2 separate regions of the Homo sapiens genome follow, and region 2 is linked to region 1. Evidence: promoter capture Hi-C in 16 types of primary human blood cells and fetal thymus (Javierre and others, 2016). All regions are on one chromosome and are shown on one strand. The core of a region is centred on a gene start or on the middle of the fragment in contact, and the rest is flanking DNA. Distances in the headings are between cores, read along the strand shown.

Evidence for each region. Contacts are between HindIII fragments. The CHiCAGO score rates a contact against its expected background, and 5 or more counts as called.
Region 2: a contact is called between a fragment that was not itself captured here and the fragment with the promoter of SLC26A4 in region 1, in 1 of 17 cell types (fetal thymus). The highest score is 5.5, in fetal thymus.

The regions. Positions count from the first base shown.
Region 1 is chr7:107,655,391-107,662,447 of GRCh38, forward strand. SLC26A4 (solute carrier family 26 member 4) reads left to right here and starts at 5,438. Exons shown (of 21, transcript NM_000441.2): 1 at 5,438-5,465; 2 at 6,249-6,415. The coding sequence starts at 6,252. SLC26A4-AS1 (SLC26A4 antisense RNA 1) reads right to left here and starts at 6,408. Exons shown (of 2, transcript NR_028137.1): 1 at 6,212-6,408; 2 at 1,126-4,816. The HindIII fragment of the contact is 14,838 bases long and covers 2,547-7,057 here.
Region 2 is chr7:106,789,284-106,795,375 of GRCh38, forward strand. The region is part of intron 1 of LINC02577 (long intergenic non-protein coding RNA 2577); the gene reads left to right. Among named protein-coding and RNA genes, the nearest start is that of LINC02577, 17 kb to the left of the region's middle. The HindIII fragment of the contact is 160 bases long and covers 3,808-3,967 here.

The sequences.
Region 1 (7,057 bases), core at 4,188-6,687:
TAATTCCACAAGACATCTTTCTCTTTCTCCCATAGCATTTCGTCACAACAGAATGTTATCTGATTTATTTTTTTTGCTGATAATCACTGTCCCCCATTAGAAGTACTTTGAAGGCAGGAACTTTGACAAACTTGTTCACTGCTGTATCCCCGACACTTAGATAGTGTTTGATACAAGTTAAGGGTTCACTAAATACTCATGGTGTAAGTAAATAAATGTATGAATCAATGAATGAATAATTAAACGAATGAATGGAATACTTAAACATCCAACTCGTGGTAACACAGCACATCAGTGTTTACTTGAAACAATCCTCAAGCTTCCCTTTTCTCCCTCCATTAACAAACCACAGATTTCATGAGATAAGATATGCAAGGATAACTTTAAAAGTGCAATACACTTAAATAATAAGAAATTTGGAAGGATCCTGAAATTATTCTTTGCTTAGAAAACTATGCCATTATTGGCTCGACATAGTGGCACAGGCCTGTAATGCCAGCTACTTCAGGGACTGAGGTGAGACCCCCATCTCTAAAAAAAAGAAAGAAAACATCCAGGCCAAGTGCAGTTGGCTCCTGCCTGTAATGTCATTTTATAATCAGCATTTTGGAAGGCTGAGGTGGTAGGATTATTTGAGCCCAGGAGTTTGAGACCAGCCTGGGTAACAAAGCGAGACCCCATCTCTTGAAAAAAAAAAATCATCATTAAAACAAACATTAAAAGAAACCCACCTGGGTGTGGTGGCTCACACATGTAATCCCAGCACCCTGGGAGGATGAAGCAGGTGGATCTCTTGAGCACAGGAGTTTGAGACCAGCCTGAGCAAGATGGCAAAACCCTGTCTCTACAAAAAATACAAAAATTAGCCGGGTGTGGTGGCACATGCCTATAGTCTCAACTACTTGGGAGGCTGAGGTGGAGAATGGCTTGAGCTTTGGAGGTGAAGGTTGCAGTGAGCTGAGATAGTGTCACTGCACTTCAACCTGGGTGACAGAGCCAGACCCTGTTTAAAACAAACAAACAAACACACACACACACACACACACACAGAAAACCCCTCAAAACCCAAAACTATGCCATCATTTCGTTCTAGCAATTTACTAAACCACATATCAAGTTTGCATTCATATTAAAGAAGAGGCAGATGGGCTCTGCCTGAGAAATTTATTGAGTTATAGTTTTATTGACACTGTAAGTTGTTTAAAATTGAATGGATTGCCACATAATATTTACAAATAATTTCATTTTTTGATGTTTTAATGGTTGGATTCTCTTCTTTTAAAACTAGTTTTTTTTCTACCCAAATATTTCTCAAAATTCCATTGTTAAACAATCAATTGATCAATAATTTAACAAGTCTGGTACCTATTATATTGTCATAATTTGTCAAGGTATTGTGTAGGGAAATAAAGAGACTAGCATTATAATTTTACTTTAATAAAAATGTATACCTATGTCTGCATAGAAAGAATAAATAAAAAAAGAAGCAAAACAGTGATTATCTGGATAATGAGATAAAATGTGATTACTATATTATACATTAATGTAGTTTCCAAATTATTTACTACAGGCACATCTTATTTTTGTAACACCATAAAAGACATATACTATTTATGTCCCTAGGGAGCATATCTTATAACTGGAGAAGAAAATAAAGTAGCATACAGTAAACAAATAGAAAACAATTGAGTGCAAGATAAAAATAACAACAAAAAACCAAGAAAACAATTGAGTGCAAAACTGTATGATTACTGAGAATAAGCCCAATAAGTTGCTCAGAGAAGAAGAGATCAGAAATATAGAAAGAAAGTTCAGTTCAGTTCTCTTTTTGTATAAGTATGACAAAAATTTAGCATTTGCTATCTTGAGAAAATTAACACGCATAATGAAATAAAAGCTCAGGATTAGGCCTGGCTCAAGTGATCCTCCCGCCTCAGCTTCTCAAAGTGTTGGGATTACACTGTGAGCCACAGCGCCCAGCCAACATGTTTGCATTCTTTTGCAATTCTTCTGATTTGAGAACATTTTAAATTGTAAAAAAAAAAAAAAAAAGAAAAAATTTATACCACAATATTCGCTCTCAGACAAAAATAATGTAGCAAGATTGACTGCTCTTAAGTTAAATAAACGAAGGATTCAATTAAATCATTCTTGTAGCACACGTAGTCACTCAAAAGCATAGATACTCTGTCAGGTGTGGTGGTGTGCACCTATAGTCCCAGCTATTCTGGAGACTGGGAGTTCAAGTCCAGCCTGGGCAAAATAGCAAGATCCCATCTCTAAAAAAGAAAAAAAAGGCATAGATACACTATAAATTTATGTAAATATCTATATTTTATTAATTATAGAATTCTATTATAAAACTCATTTTATGAATCACAAAATACGCTATCAATTAAACTATAATATATAGTAGATCATCAATTATAACATGAACCCTGATAAAATGTGAAAAATCTGTATTTTATAATCAGTGAAATAAGATACACATTTTGTGACCATTTGATTAGTGTCTACTGCACCCATAAATATGAGGCCAGGGTATAAGCTTTTGTTCATCATTGTACCCACAGCCAGCACAAATAATTTCCTAATAAATCCTTGAATGAATGAATGAATGAACAGGTGAATGCGTAATCAAACAAGGGAGTTTGTCTTACACTGCAAATGCCTAAATGATAAATAAGAAAATGCCTTTTAAAAAAGTATTAACTGCTAAATAAGTACTGTAAAGTATCAATAATATTGTCTGATATTTATTTTTAAGTGATGCATCTATTTCTTTGGAAAGAAGTCCTGAATATTTTAAAAGTCTGATAAATAAGAACCACCCACCTCTGTGTGAAACAGGAGAAGGTTGCCTTATAAAGCCCAAGTGAGTAATCTAAGGTGTTTAATATCACAATTAAATAGGGTGGAGAGAGCAAGCTGTTATTTCCTCCTACTCTTCTGTTTTTAAAAAGCCAAATTCAAACGGTCTGCCTTTTACCTATGAGAAAAGCAGTTCTATACCCTTATAGAATCCTGTAACAGAGATACCATTTTGTTCTGCCCCAGCTATTTCTGCTATGGAAAAGCATTGAACAGAAAAAAGCAATTATCTTCATCCAGATACATGCAGGACTTATTATATTGTGATTATTGAACCAAACTCTTATATAGAGAGATGCATTTCAAATAAGAATTCTATTAGCCAAGCTAAGTTACTCTTTTGCCTCCTGTTGTTACTCAAGTCTTTTCTCTTCTGTCCTTCTGCCAGCCTTACCCCACTCCTTAATCCTCTGAACCAGCAAACCATTGCCAAGTTCTGATGCAAAGTGGTTTATAGGCCTGACTGGACCAGACTAAAAGTGTTCAAAATAGCAAGCAACAAGGAGCAGAAATCCATATTAGAATGGGATATGGACTATATTTATATTGGTACAGAATGCCTTCAATAAAGAGTTGTGAGTTGTGTAGGTGAGTTGCCATGGAGCTACAAATATGAGTTGATATTCTGAAATCCTAGACAGCCATCTCCAAGGTTAAGAAAAATCCTTATGCACTCACTTGCAAAGATATCCACAGCATGCTCTTAATGGAGAAAAACAAAGCCTTAGATCAAATATGTAAAGTAATTTTTAGTTTTTTGAAAAGGTATGTTTGGGCTATAGATAAATCTGTTCAAAAAACATGAGAGAAGATAATAATGGTTGAAAGGAGACACAGTGCTTGCCCTCAAGAAGTTTTTGTCTAGTGAGGGAGAGAGAACTTGTATGTAAATAAAATTGTGTTACTAAGGTAGATAGTGAGAAGTAACTTAAGAGAGGATCAGATAAGGTATTAAGAGAATACAGAAAAGGGTCTGGATTAATTCTGAACAGCATCAAAGAATGTTCTTGCAAGAGATAGTGTTTTCACCAGATCTTGAAGGTATGGATGAGGGTATACAGAGTGAGTATATTCAGATTCTACTTTAAAACAAATACTTTCCTCTGTTGTAGTGGAGTTGAGCTATACATCCAACAATAATGAAAAAATACACGCATATATACATATATGGAGAGAGATACATATTTTAGTACATGTAGCAATTGATTAATAAATGTACAGTTTAAGTCGCATGCAAAACCTTGGAGTGATAGCAAACTTCATTGTAGGATGTTTAGCAGCATCTCTGGTCTCTACTCACTAGATCCCAATAGCATCTCCCTAGGTGTGACAACCAAAAATGTCTCCAGGCATTGACCTCTGGAGGCAAAAAAAGCCCTTTATTAAGAACCAGTGGTATACATAAGTAAAACATACACAAGAGATTCCTCCCCTCTTCTCTGTATGTGAATAAAAATTGCAAAGTTCATGACCTGGATTTTCCTTTTAGGTTTCTTCTTTAGTGGTTCTTAACTTCATTGGGTGAAGTAAGCCTTTGAAGATCTGTTGAAAGCTGTTGACTCATTCACTTCTCAGGAAAACGCACATGCTGACTACCATTTCAGAGAATTTGCATCAGGGTTCTCTGGGGAGGAGTTCTGAGTTCTGTTTCCAGGAGCTCGTAGAATTGTCATGGTCTGCATATGCAAGGCAGGTGGATTACGGAAGGTTGATGTACAGAGGTCTGTATTTTGGAGCCTCTTCTGTATTTACTTCAGAACACTAACAATCAGGCGAGAATGTTCTGGTTTATCAAACCCTTCCTTCTGCCTTTCATCTTAACCATGCATTAGTTTTAACAAAGTTCATCCCAACAGAAGACAAAACACTGATGAGGTAGGATAGCTCCAGCTCCTCCTCCCTCTCTTCTAGTCTTGATTTCCATGTAGTCCAGTTTATTCCTTCCCTGATTGTCCAGGAGAATGAGAAAAAGAAAAAACAGAGTCTAGTGGGTAAGAAAGGGCCACCTGGACGGCTTGATTTGGATTGTGAAATAAAACACACACACATGCACACGTAGAATAAGTGGCTAAAATCTGAGTAAATCGTGAACTCTCTGTATCCTCCACCCATTGAATACTCCTAAAAGACTTTCTAGAAATTCAAGGACTTATTAATATAGAAACCTGGCCATTGTTCCTCTTCTCCTCCCCATGTGGTATGAGAGCACCTGTGGCAGGCTCCCAGAGACCACGGACCTCTTCCTCTAGGCGGGCTCTGCTCTTCTTTAAGGAGTCCCACAGGGCCTGGCCCGCCCCTGACCTCGCAACCCTTGAGATTAGTAACGGGATGAGTGAGGATCCGGGTGGCCCCTGCGTGGCAGCCAGTAAGAGTCTCAGCCTTCCCGGTTCGGGAAAGGGGAAGAATGCAGGAGGGGTAGGATTTCTTTCCTGATAGGATCGGTTGGGAAAGACCGCAGCCTGTGTGTGTCTTTCCCTTCGACCAAGGTGTCTGTTGCTCCGTAAATAAAACGTCCCACTGCCTTCTGAGAGCGCTATAAAGGCAGCGGAAGGGTAGTCCGCGGGGCATTCCGGGCGGGGCGCGAGCAGAGACAGGTGAGTTCGCCCTGAAGATGCCCACACCGCCCGGCCCGGGCTCCACTCCCGGGGAGGCCTCGAGGGTTGCGGATGGGACTCTTAAGTGGTCACGGATCAGGTGGGCAGGGGGCAGTACAGCTTTCTTTCTGAGACGCCGAGAGCGAACAGGCTGCTCGGAAAACAGGACGAGGGGAGAGACTTGCTCAATAAGCTGAAAGTTCTGCCCCCGAGAGGGCTGCGACAGCTGCTGGAATGTGCCTGCAGCGTCCGCCTCTTGGGGACCCGCGGAGCGCGCCCTGACGGTTCCACGCCTGGCCCGGGGGTCTGCACCTCTCCTCCAGTGCGCACCTGGAGCTGCGTCCCGGGTCAGGTGCGGGGAGGGAGGGAATCTCAGTGTCCCCTTCCAGCCTTGCAAGCGCCTTTGGCCCCTGCCCCAGCCCCTCGGTTTGGGGGAGATTTCAGAACGCGGACAGCGCCCTGGCTGCGGGCCATAGGGGACTGGGTGGAACTCGGGAAGCCCCCAGAGCAGGGGCTTACTCGCTTCAAGTTTGGGGAACCCCGGGCAGCGGGTGCAGGCCACGAGACCCGAAGGTTCTCAGGTGCCCCCCTGCAGGCTGGCCGTGCGCGCCGTGGGGCGCTTGTCGCGAGCGCCGAGGGCTGCAGGACGCGGACCAGACTCGCGGTGCAGGGGGGCCTGGCTGCAGCTAACAGGTGATCCCGTTCTTTCTGTTCCTCGCTCTTCCCCTCCGATCGTCCTCGCTTACCGCGTGTCCTCCCTCCTCGCTGTCCTCTGGCTCGCAGGTCATGGCAGCGCCAGGCGGCAGGTCGGAGCCGCCGCAGCTCCCCGAGTACAGCTGCAGCTACATGGTGTCGCGGCCGGTCTACAGCGAGCTCGCTTTCCAGCAACAGCACGAGCGGCGCCTGCAGGAGCGCAAGACGCTGCGGGAGAGCCTGGCCAAGTGCTGCAGGTAGCGGCCGCGCGGGCCTGCGTAGAGAGAAGCGGAGCGGGGCGTCCACGCCTTGGGGAGGGAAGGGCGTCCCCAGCGGGCGAGAGTGGGGTGCGGGCGGCGGAGCCCCTGGGCGCCAGCTGCTTCTCCCAGAGGCCCGACTTTCGGTCTCCGGTCCTCCACGCCGCCCTTCTGGTGGGAGGGTGGCTCCATCAGTCTCGGGCCCGAAATGAACTTACCTGGGAAACTCGCCTTTGGGGAGAGTGGGTTCTAGGAGCCCCGTCTCTCTTTTTCCTCTCTGAAGGAAACTTGGAGTGCCTCTTGGGGTACAGTGGGTCCCTGTTGCCTTCTTGGGAGCTTGTTTAAATGAAATGAATAGGGAAACCCAGCTCTTGACCAGGAGGAGTCCTTGAAACACTCAAGCTAAGTAGGCGGGCTACCATTCAGTTAGAGACCAGGATGCAAGCTAGAACCCAGGGGAGCGCGGGGTGTGCCAAGTACTTCATCAGCAGGCTGTGGGACCCCTGGGGAAAGCCACCCTCAGTCTCTAAACCCAAACATGCCGTAACTAGATGTCACAAACATAAAGAAATTAGAGTTTCTAAAACCTTTCATTATAGAACATTTCAAATATATGCATAAGTAGACGTAGTAGTATAATGA
Region 2 (6,092 bases), core at 2,638-5,137, 870 kb before region 1:
TGGGTCTATAATTTTTTTCAAAATAAATCATGAAAAAACCATTTTCTAAGTAATCATAAACCACATTTAATAGTCCATTCTTGAAATTTGTCTGGGATTAACACAAAGCTAAGGCCAGTTTTCCTGTACCTCCCCATTTCTTCTTACCTGTTGGTTTGTGATACAATTTGGATCTGTATCCCCACCAAATCTGATGTTGCATTGTAATTGCCCATGTTGGAGGTGGGACCTGGTGGCAGGAGACTGGATCATCAGGGTGGATCCCTCATGGCTTAGTGCTGCCCCTGCAATAGTGAGTAGTAGTTTAAAAGTGCGTAGCACCCAGGTCGGGCACAGTGGCTCGCACAAGCAATCCCAGCACTTTGGGAGGCTGAGGCAGTTGGATCATTTGAGCCCAGGAGTTTGAGACCAGCCTGGGCAACACGGCAAACCCCAGCTATATAAAAAATTAGCCTGCCATGGTGGTGCATGCCTGTAGTCCCAGCTACCTGGCAAGCTAAGGTTGGGGGATCACCTGAGCCCAGGGCGGGGAGGAGGAGGGGGTTGTCAAGGCTGCAGTGAGCCATGATCAAGCCACTGCACTGCAGTCTGGGCAACAGTGAGACCCCATCTCAAAAATAATAAATAAATAACTGAAAATGTTGTTAAGTATGTAGCACCTCTCTTCTTCCTGCTTTGCCATGTGACATGCCTCCTCCCACTTTGCCTTTGGCCATGAGTAAAAGCTCCCTGAGGCTTCCACAGAAGCCAAGCAGATACTGGCGTCATGCTTCCTGTACAGCCTGCAGAACTCGGAGCCAGTTAAATCGCTTTTCTTTATAAATTACCCAGTGTCGTGTATTCCCTTATAGCGAGACCTAATACAGTTTGTCTTATTGTCTTTCATTCTTTATTTGTTAATTCATTGCACACTTATTAAATGTTCATCATACACGCACTGCTGCTCCTGCAGGAGATCACTGGCCTTTATCCTATCCCTTGGCTCCATCTTTCTTCCCACCTTTCTGTGGAAACTGACAGGAGCAACTAATTCAGCCCTGAGGGTCATGAATATCCACAAAGGGAGCATTTAAGTTGATTTTACCAGGATTTTCTTCTCCCTTTCCCAGAAAATTTGAGTGGAAAATCCCTCTTGATCAAGTCAGCAAATCTCCTGCCAAACAAATTCTTCCCAGTCTTTGAAAGATCCAATCCCCCTATTCTGGTAGGTTTGGCTATTATCCAGGAAACCTAATCTCACTCCTCTAAACCAGCAACAGAAGCCAAGTCTTCCTTTCCTGCATCCTTTTCTTCCAAAGCCAACTGGAAAGAAAAAATAAACCAAAAATTCTATCTAGACCCTAAAATTCTCTATTTTCTGTTCAAAACTCCAACAATGGAGATACAATTGAAACTTCTTAACATCACAGAATTTGTTTTTAGCAGAAATCGATATAAGAGGCCAGCCTCCTCCTCCTCCTAGAGATGAGGGAGAAATAGAGACTCAGAAGGGTATGCAATGTGCCAAGAGCCGGGCAGGACAATGCACTTGTCAGGGCCTGAGTCTTAAGAAGTCAACATTTACCAAGTCCCCACAGCCTGTCTTGTCATCAGGAACTGAAGGAAGCAAATGAGAGGGGAGCCCACCAACTCTCTGTGGTCCAGGTGTAATCAGGAGGCCCCTCCCCATGTTCTCCTCCAGGACACCTTTGGCAGGAATGAAGAGGGGACTCTGTATGCTCCTGACTGGAGCCCAACCTACCAATCCCCAGCCTTCACACTCCACACCACTATCCTCCTTGAGACCACCAAGATCAACCTCAGCATGCTCCCTAACCTTGTTTATGTCAACACAAGAAGCCCAGGACTCCCAGGTCAGCCCTCAGACCCCACACGGCTCTATGAGAGCAAACAACCACCTCCTCAAACACACACACACGATCCTAATTACCCCTCCTGCACTGCATTTTGTTTTTTTTTTTTTTTTACTTAGCATTTATGATTATTTGATAATTCATAAGCTCTATTTACTTGTTTTTCCATCCTCTCCCAGAATAAAAGGTCTTTGAGAGCAGGAATTTTAGTTTGTTTTGTTCACTCTTCTATCTTCAGTGTTAGCACTTTGTAAGAGCTTAATAAACATTTGTTAAATCAATAAATCTCTAAGACCGTTTTTTGAAGTCTGAAAATGCCAGGATGAAAGGATGTCGGAGAAGTTTAAGAGAAGAGCCATCATTTGTGGCAGCCAGAACACTTGAAAAAGGGAAGGCTTGAATTCTAAAGATTTTCAGAACCGGCATGGATCAAGTGAAAGAACAATTAGCAGTGGGGTGTTCAGAGCAGACACAGGGCCAGACATAAGCAAAATAGCGTTCCTTCTGAAACAGGGAATAGAAATAACTTCACACCTACTATGTGCCAAGCACCGTGTCAACAAGCACTATTCAAGATGGAATTGTTATCCCCATATACAGATGAAGAAACTGAGGCAAAGAGGAGATAAGTAACTGCCCAAGATCCACAGTTAGTAAGGAGGAGAGCCACTTTTCAAACCTGAAGTTTACCCAGATCCAAAATCCACCTCCCTTCCTCTCACTGAGTCTGCCTGGCCCATCCATCCCAGGCATCAGGCCCCTTCCTCTGTGACCCCGACTGAATTCTTCAGTGCCTCCTTCTCCAAGTTCCAGATGACCCCGAGGATCAATTAGTTCCCATGCAGTGCTAACAAATGCCACAGGCTCAGACCCTGGGTCCTGTCTTCCTCTCTAAATCAACACTTGCAGGAAAAAAGTATGGACCCAACTAGAAAGTACTTTTAATGATTAAGTTATTAAATAAACCCCAAAAAAGTACAGTGAAAGGGATTGGTAAGGGGGATAATTAGAATATAGCCTACTGGTATATCTGGTAAAGTTTTTATGATAATAAATTAAAATATCATAAAGTTTTTATAATAAATAGGATATTGATTAGTCTTTTCTAAACCTCAGCATACTTTTTTTTTGGTTTTGAAACAGAGTCTCTGTCACCCAGGCTGGAATGTAATAGCACGATCTTGGCTCACTGCAACCTCCACCTCCTGGGCTCAAGTGATCCTCCTGCCTCAGCCTCGGCATACTTTCTAACCTTGTTTATGTCACCACAAGAAACCCAAGGCTCCTGGGTCAGCCCTTATCCCCCACACGGCTCTATAAGCAGTAAGCAACCACCTCCCCAAACACACACACGCAATCCTTATCTTCCTTCCTGCCCTTTTGTAAAACTTAGCATTTATGATCATTTGACAAATCATATACTTTATTTACTTGTTTGTCCATCCTTTCCTGGAATAAAAGGACTATTAGAGCTGGAATTTGTTTGGACAGAAAAAAAAAGTGTTTAAATAAAAGCAGAGAGAGAGAGACATGGTTTATAACAAAGTCTCATTAGGATGATGAAACACTTAAATAAATTTTTACTGGGGTCGTGATCCCTGGAAAAACTTTCAAAATAAGAACTCTGACATTCACACTGAATGACTCTTCCTTCCATCACCGAGACACTCTGATCCAGATCAGATGGCCTCACAGTTCCGGCCAACTGGGTGAATCCAGGGTTAAAAATGGCCACCTACTTTTCATGGGGCCCACTCGACAGCTCAGTTGTTTGGAGGTATAGTGCTTGCAGAACCAAGGTCACAGGTAATGAGCGGGATTATTGTTCATCATTAAGCATTAAGTGTTATCTATGAAATGATGTTGTTTAATGGTGCTATAGGCTTTTAGCAATAGAGTCATCAAGAAATATAAAATCCAGACTTTAGGTTTAGTGGGAGAAGAGGGAAAGGAAAGCTTAAAATTAGGATAGTTGTAAGAAAGATGCTTATTAAAGAAAGATGAATGGAGTTTCTCTGCTTCTAGTCCTAAAAGACACTAGTGTTACAGGTACCTGTTATTTTTCCACCTGCCCAGCAGGTGTCAGTGTAAGACAATGTTCCTAGAACTGACCAAGCTTTTTTAAAAATTGAGAGTTATCAAATTATAAAATACAGAAGATACAATAAAGATGGGTTTGCAAAAATTTTCACATGAGCCTTTAAATGAGGGAAGGAGATGACCAAAAATAAGTTTCCAGAAAGGTAAGATGATCAGAGTTGGACTGGGGGGCCTCAGAAGGCCCCATCTGGCTCTCAGATTTCTTGTCAATTCAGCGGGAATTCCTGGAGCATCTCGGGGCTGCAGGAGGACTCAGCACTGTTGGAAGAGTTCGTTGCTGGTAACTAGCACAGTAACAAATGAACACTCCCAGGGAAAATGGTAGTATTCCACCAGGCATACTCTCTTAAAAAACAGACACCGTCTCTGCTTCTCAGAGGCTTACAATAAGAACATAGAAATCCTGTAATTCATGAAAATATATTATTATAAGAACTAAAAAAGTGAATCAAGGAAAAAGAGATGGTCATCAATGGTTGCATGAATAATTTGCAGAATGCACTGAGTTAGTCAGGGTGAGCTTCCCGGAGGAGCTGGCCATTGAGCTGTGACGAAAGAGAACAGAGCCACAAATCCAGGGTTCCACCCTAGCTCCTGCCTTTCTGTTCTGCATTCAGTTTTTCTCCTCCAAATACAAATGTCCTATACACTGATGAAGGGCAAGCAATACAGAAAAAGAAAATAAACACAACTTATTTTTTTAATTCACTATATAAAGGTTCCGTGGGTATTTTAAAGGGAAAATGGTGGGGGGCGGGGGCTCTTATCTATTGCGCATGTAACAAGACATACATTATGTCATACAAGTCTAACCAAAATCCTGAGATGTAAGTAGTATTGTTCTCATTTTTGCATAAAGGATCCAAGGCTCCCAGAAGCCATAAACTTGCCCAAGATTATGATATCTAATATTTATGAGGGATTACTCCGCATACACAATAATCCTATGAAGTTACTATTATTCCCATTTATTGGATGAAGACATTAAGCCTTACAAAAAATAAGTGATTGTCTCCCCAAAGCCACAGGCCTCAGGAGCCATTAAGATGAAATTCAAACTCATGTTTAGCAAGGTGGGTTCTCTGGGAACTCAGGTTGTAGGTGTTTGCTAGGAAGTGCCCTTAGGATTAGTACCTATGGAGAGAAGGGGAGGGTGGAAGGATTGGCCAGCACTGGGCCAAAGAGCCAGGCTTTTCTACACCTGTCTCCATCAGTCACTGGATATGGGCCTCACAGGAGGGAATGGCCTTGGGGAAGGCAGCTCTCTGCAACTGAGGTGGACCTGAAGGGTTGGTACCTGACAACTGTCTGCTGACAGCACTCCCAGAGCTAGAACAAGTCCTTCCTAGGAGGGGCATCTGGCATCACCACGTTCATTATGCCATGCCTGTGTCTTACTTTGTTCCAGTTAATCATGATCTCTGCTACACCATGCTGGGAGAAGGCCAGAAGGGAGGCAGTGGTAGTCTTTGATAGAGTTGGAGGGTGGGGCAGGGCTGGGGGTTGTGGAGTGGTGAGCCCAGACCCCAGACTTCCTGGGGAAATGAATACCAGGCTCTCATCCAAAGAGACATTTCATCAAATAACATCAAGTGGAAATAAACAAAGGGGTTGAGGCTGATTGCACTGGCTCCAAGTACTGTCAGCCATTAGATGCTTGTTGTTCAGTTGATTGACAGCTTCCAGGTGGCCAAGTAAGGAAGGATGCAACAGTTGGCCCAGACCTCGTGCTGCTTAGTAACATCTGATCTCCTCCTGCTGTGTGCCGCTTTCTCACCCGGAGGCACCTGAGCTGCTCCATATGCCTGGTGTGCTAAGCGCTGGCCTTTCTGTGCTGTGCGGTCCTGCTCTAAGGTGAGGGTAGCCTTGAGAGGGCTGTTTGCCATTTGGAAATAGAGTCAGCTTGTGGCTCTCTCAAGAAGTGAGAACAGCAAAATTCAAGCCTGAGTGGTAACCAGTTTCTCATACTTCTGCTTGAATTCAGAGAGCAGCTGACTTGACAGAAGGCAAAAAGCCGGCCAGCTTAGCTCACTCAGTGACAAGTGAGCACAGAGCAAAACTAACTTTCCATGGTTCAATTCCTCTCCAGTGTCACCCTGCTTGCACATGGAAGGGAGGCCTGAGAGGCTGCAGAATGGC